Linked DNA regions of Homo sapiens: region 2 is linked to region 1. The links are contacts of gene promoters, found by promoter capture Hi-C in blood cells and fetal thymus (Javierre and others, 2016). All regions are on one chromosome and are shown on one strand. The core of a region is centred on a gene start or on the middle of the fragment in contact, and the rest is flanking DNA. Distances in the headings are between cores, read along the strand shown. Region 1 holds the start of RAB27B (RAB27B, member RAS oncogene family). Region 2 overlaps C18orf54 (chromosome 18 open reading frame 54).

Evidence for each region. Contacts are between HindIII fragments. The CHiCAGO score rates a contact against its expected background, and 5 or more counts as called.
Region 2: a fragment that was not itself captured here is called in contact with the fragment with the promoter of RAB27B in region 1 in 1 of 17 cell types (erythroblasts); the score reaches 6.7 in erythroblasts.

What each region holds. Positions count from the first base shown.
Region 1 is chr18:54,827,119-54,829,818 of GRCh38, reverse strand. RAB27B (RAB27B, member RAS oncogene family) reads right to left here and starts at 1,342. Exons shown (of 6, transcript NM_004163.4): 1 at 1,119-1,342. The HindIII fragment of the contact is 8,053 bases long and covers 1-2,700 here.
Region 2 is chr18:54,359,982-54,362,681 of GRCh38, reverse strand. C18orf54 (chromosome 18 open reading frame 54) reads right to left here. Exons shown (of 9, transcript NM_001288980.2): 3 at 1,827-2,155; 4 at 251-1,039. The coding sequence starts at 2,109. Among named protein-coding and RNA genes, the nearest start is that of C18orf54, 3.4 kb to the right of the region's middle. The HindIII fragment of the contact is 461 bases long and covers 1,159-1,619 here.

The DNA.
Region 1 (2,700 bases), core at 93-2,592:
CAATGGCACATGACAGGTATGTCTCTCTCTTCATCACTGCAATATGGACTTTACAGCAGCTTGAAAATTCATTAAACTTAAATATCTGAGTTTATATTAATGCTTAAGTCTATCCTTTCCCTCAACTTTTCAAAATTTATAACCATAAAACCCTGTATATTCTATATATGAATGAATATGTGTGAATATAACTAAATATTGAGAACTGTAGACATTTTTCTTATAAACAGAACAAAATCAAAATTCAGAGCTGTATTATATTAAACAATAATTTTGTTGTTAATAACCTTGAAATTTATGTTATTACTTTGGGCTTAATTTAATGATGTGCAGTTTAAAACAACTGGAATTACATACCCTTAGCTTTACATCTTGACATAAAAAACTCACAAAACATGATACAGGTGTGAAGGCTCTAACCAAACACAGCTTTTTCCTAGGAATGCAGTCTCTGCTTACAGTTCACCTACTTCAGTAGTTTTCAGAGGCTTAATTAATGTTGCATTGGGTGGGAAAGTCTTGAAAGCTAATTTATTGTGATCAGTTGGGTGAACACACATGCACACATATACCCTAGTTGGTGCAACACTTAGATCAGAATTCGAAAGTAACAGAGCAAAAAATTGGAAAACAGAAAGTACTCTTAAGGTCTCTGTGGCTATTTCATCTAAGGAAGTGCATATAAATGTCTTATTGCTCTCCTGGCTTGCCTCACTAAGTCGCTCCTCCTGGAATGAAACTCTGAGCACATCATCATCCATGCTTTTTCTTATTCATTATTTTGATTGTTTTTTGAGATGCAAATGAAAGGAAATTGGCATTGCTGTGCCTAGGCTTTTTGTTTTTCTTTTTGCTTTTTTTGGTGGTAACCAGCTGTTTGATAAGCAAACACTCAAGGAGAGCCAGGTCGAGTTGGCCCATGCCATCCGTGCAGCACACAGCACTACTGTCTTCTTTGCAAGGATTTCTGCTGGAAACCGCGATCGAAGGTGCACACGCACTCACACATGCACACACACACACACAGAGGCCTCACTTCCCACGGCGCAGGCCGGCGCTGCAGCACCCGGGTGGGTGGGAACGCGTTCCAGCAGCAGCAGCCCGCCTTCCCAACTCACCAGCCTGCGAAGTTTCCTTGCCGGGAGAGCAGGTGTCAGATTTCAGAGAGGTTTCCTTCCCCTTCCCAAGCCCTGGAACTCCCGGGCTCCACCGTCAGCAAGGAGACAGGATCTGCTCCACAGGGCGATGAGCACGGGGACAGCTACTTATCTCCTCCAACCTGTGGCTCCGGATGGGTCCAAGGCCGGGCGGTCCGCAGCCCCTGCCCGTCAGGACTGCGAGTGGCAGGGCTGGTGGCACCACCCTCGGAGTCCGCCGCGGCGGCGGGGCTGGGTAAGGTTTGTGTGAGAAGAAGGCGTGTCTGCAAGTCCCAACGCGGATGTGCGGAGCTCACCTCAGGCAAGTCTTGCTGGTGACTCAACTGCTGCAGTGAGAAACACACTCCTCTCGGGGATGAAGTCTCCACACTGTGGGGCTTCTAGCCTTACCAGCGAGCTCATTTTTATTCATTTTTGTTCTGTGTTTTCTTTGATGTCTCTCATTCAAAGAGCCCAGGGCGCTGTGAGAACTGGGGCCCTGACATTGCGTTCTCTCCTCCGAGGGGGTGTCTCATTAACTATGAGGAGTGAAGGCGAGGGATTGCGAGTGGGGAGCAGAGGATGGCCTCGGGAAATAAAAGAGGGCGTTGGAAAGAAATTAATATTTTAAAAGTTAGGATGTGTTCGTATGAATGCATTAATCAGTATGCAACATCCAAATTCACTTCCCAAAGCCCTAATTCACTTCCTAAAGTCACTTCAGAGATCAATAGGTTACCACTAAGTAAGATAATGAGCACACGGAGGCATTGAACCAGTATTTGTTAAGCACCTACTATGTGCTATGCCGTGTTCTAAACACATTAGATTCGTCCACAAAGCAAAGATCCTGGCTGCCCATCTTGGGATTCCATTTTAGACACATTCAGACATCCCTAATTTACAGACTGGTAGTAAAGGTAAGAATACAAGGTTAGGTACATTATAATAACAACCGATTTACTCCTCTGTGAACAAAATTTAAAAGTTCCAAACCTGTGTCTTGCATTCATGTTAGTAAACAACGAGATGCCAATGACTGCTTGAATTTTAATTACTTAACTTGTTTCTTATTCGATGCCCTAGAGACAATCTGGGAGGCACTGCTGTTATCAGCTCCCAGAGAATTTCTTGTAGAAGGGAGCAAAGGAATAGCCCAAACCAAAACACAAAACAAACAATAGCAAACTAGTGGAAAAATGGAATATTAGAGAAAACATTTTGGTCTCATAGAAATCTGTCTATTCTATTATGAAACTATTAAAGAAGTTCTATTTTATGTCCTTCAATGTTCTTGAAAGTTGAAAAGAAGAGTAATAATAATGTCTTCATAGTGTTATTGTGAAGAATTGACTTCATATCAGTAATGTGTGTAGAACGTGCCTGGCACAGTAAGTTCTATGAATGTGTTGGCTATACTTATAATTTTGGTAACAATCTATTCCATTCTCCCCAAGTAAGATCCAGTTCCTAAAAATTATTTTGGATCTACTGCATAAAAGTCTTTGAGGCTCAGCCTGTAGATTTTCAAAGTATGTATGCTTGGAATCTATATTTATGATAA
Region 2 (2,700 bases), core at 140-2,639, 470 kb after region 1:
ATTTGGAATGTACATTCATCTATAACAGCAAATTATGTTAAAATGTGACATTTCAAGCAAAGAAAAAAATGGGAGAAAAGACATTTTCTAGTTACAAAATGCTGTATGTGAAGATTATAAGCATTCCAAAAAGATGTATTACATGAAAACAAAACATAAAAGCTCCCAGATATCACATCAACTTTACAGCACTTCTTTTGGTTTAAAAAAAAGAAAAATAAATAACTATAAGCAATAAACAAAGTATTACCACTGAATGGCTTTGTGGATTGTCCTGGGAGAAGTGGATTCTCACATTGACACTGGCTATGTTCAAAATCACATTTGTATTCATTAACTAATTCTTTATCATCACTCAAGGAATTTGAAAAGTTTGAGGGTTCAAAAGCATATTCAAAACAATCTAATTTATTGATAAGCCGAGAAGTTCCTTGTGCCTGATGACTATGTCTAGGGGAACACTGATCATCTTTAAATATCTGATAAACCCTTTGACTATTTGCATCAGGTAGCAAGTCTTGATTGTGCAGCCAGACTGGGTATTTGAAATCAGGTATACTAGTTATCCCTGAAACATTAAGGTCAGATTTCTGGCTAGTGAGCCATCTTGGGTAATTCTTTTCAAGACTGTGTTCTGAACTGTCCTTGAAAGACGATTTCTTGGGAAAAGACAAAGATGATTCAGAAATGCAATTATTAGTCCTATTCATAAGTTTTGGGTTTTTCAGCCTACCACATTGCTTTCCATTTATATTTGAGCGTATAACAGGAGTAACAAAGTTATCCTTGCCCATGGAAGTGTAGGGTCCTTGAAAATGTGGATTCTTCTCAATGTCCAATGAACCCAGTCTTCCACGGCATTTCTTGTTTTTCTTGCTCGTTCGGTGACTCGGTCCAACATAAGTATAAGAAAATGATCCATCTGCTGGGAGTCTTAATAGATCATCAGTTGTTAGGCTCATGGAGTCTATGTCATTAACGGTGTGTCTTCTACAGGATATGAAGTTTGAGTGCTTTTTGTGATCAAGGTTTTCAAAAGCTGAAAAACGAAGAACAGTTTTGTTTATTACATACAAATATTTTATAATATCCAACAGTAAATGAGAATTAAGAATTTAAGAGGCATTTTGCTGCTTTCCCCTTATCCTCACTAAAGCTTTGATTAAAAGCATAAAAAGGTGTAGGTGGATAAAACAGGATGTGCTTTTTTTCTCACGATTCTTCGTTCTGTGTTAATTTCTACGTTTCTCTCCAACCTCCTGAATTTTCCTGTGTTCTCTAATTTACTGTTCCTTCAACTTTCATCATCTAGACATATCTGATACACTAATACAATCACAGTAACATTGGTCACTCAATATTGGTTGCAGCATAGAAAAAAATATGCTATTAAACTAGGTGGAAAAATAACTTGTTTTCTCACCTACAAACCCTTCAATGGCATGGATTATACATAGAGAACAGCTGTTCTCATTCTTTGCTTCCGGAATATATTGACCACATCCCTCCAAGAACTGAATACAAACTTTTTCTATTCTAGGGTCATTCTGCAAGTGTTAAGTAAAGTAGTAATTGACTTATCAACAACTGCATTTTCCAAACTTGTCTTCAAGGAAGCTTTATTATGGACAAACTCTTAACATCTTGTGAATATTACTGTTCCACAGAGAATTATATAATCATTTTACAAAAACACCCAGATCTCAATATTATGTTATTTTTACTCCAAAGTAACAAAAATAATGTCAAACTTTACAATACTACAGTACATCTCCCAAATGCTTCAAAACATCTGAACACAAAGAAAACAAAGAATAAAAGCATACCATTGTTTGGTTTGTAAATATAGTTGCAGAACTGTGACATATTAGTAAAATCCTCATCAATGTTAATTTTTCCAGTGCTTGCACCAGGATATATTTGGCCTAGATCAAAATCATCAATATAAGCCTGTAGAGCTTGAGAAGCAGATCTGTACAGCTTATCTTTATAGTGAAACGAGCCATCAGAATTAGAGGAATTACTACCACTCAGGGTGCAGCTTGCCAGCAGGGCAGATACTGAAGATTCCTGAGAACAAAGTCTATGTTTTGTCTTTGATTTCGCCATGGCTTCTTCAAAGTGGATTGTTTCTATTCATTTCCCTTAAAAACAACTGTAATACAAAAACGAAATGTTAAGATGCCAATTAAAAGTGACCATACACAAACAAAATTACTAAATATGTAAACCTTTTGTAATTTTCTTTAAATAATAAAATCCATTATCTATAACAGACACTCCTTGTTAGGAATTGTAGATTTTTGTTATATTTATTATTGTGAATTCCTTCATCAATGATTTAGAAAACATTTTTTGAGTACCTACTATGTGGCTGGAAGTATGTATACAAAAATTATCTGAGAATATACATGGAAAATACCAAGGAGAGAGTACTCACTTCTTAAAAAGTCCTAAAAACTACTTATGAACCTCTTTTCTCTTATGGTGATATATTCTATGACATCACAATACCTAATATTCCCCTATACATCATATTTTTCAAATCATAAGCCTACTACCATGTGCTGCAGATAATAGCGCTCAATAAATTTTTTAAAGCCATCAAATGAAGTATTCAAAACAAGAACAATGGAGAATATTCACTTTCAATGTTATAAATGCTAGTACATTTACAACATTTAACTGTAAATAAACTGC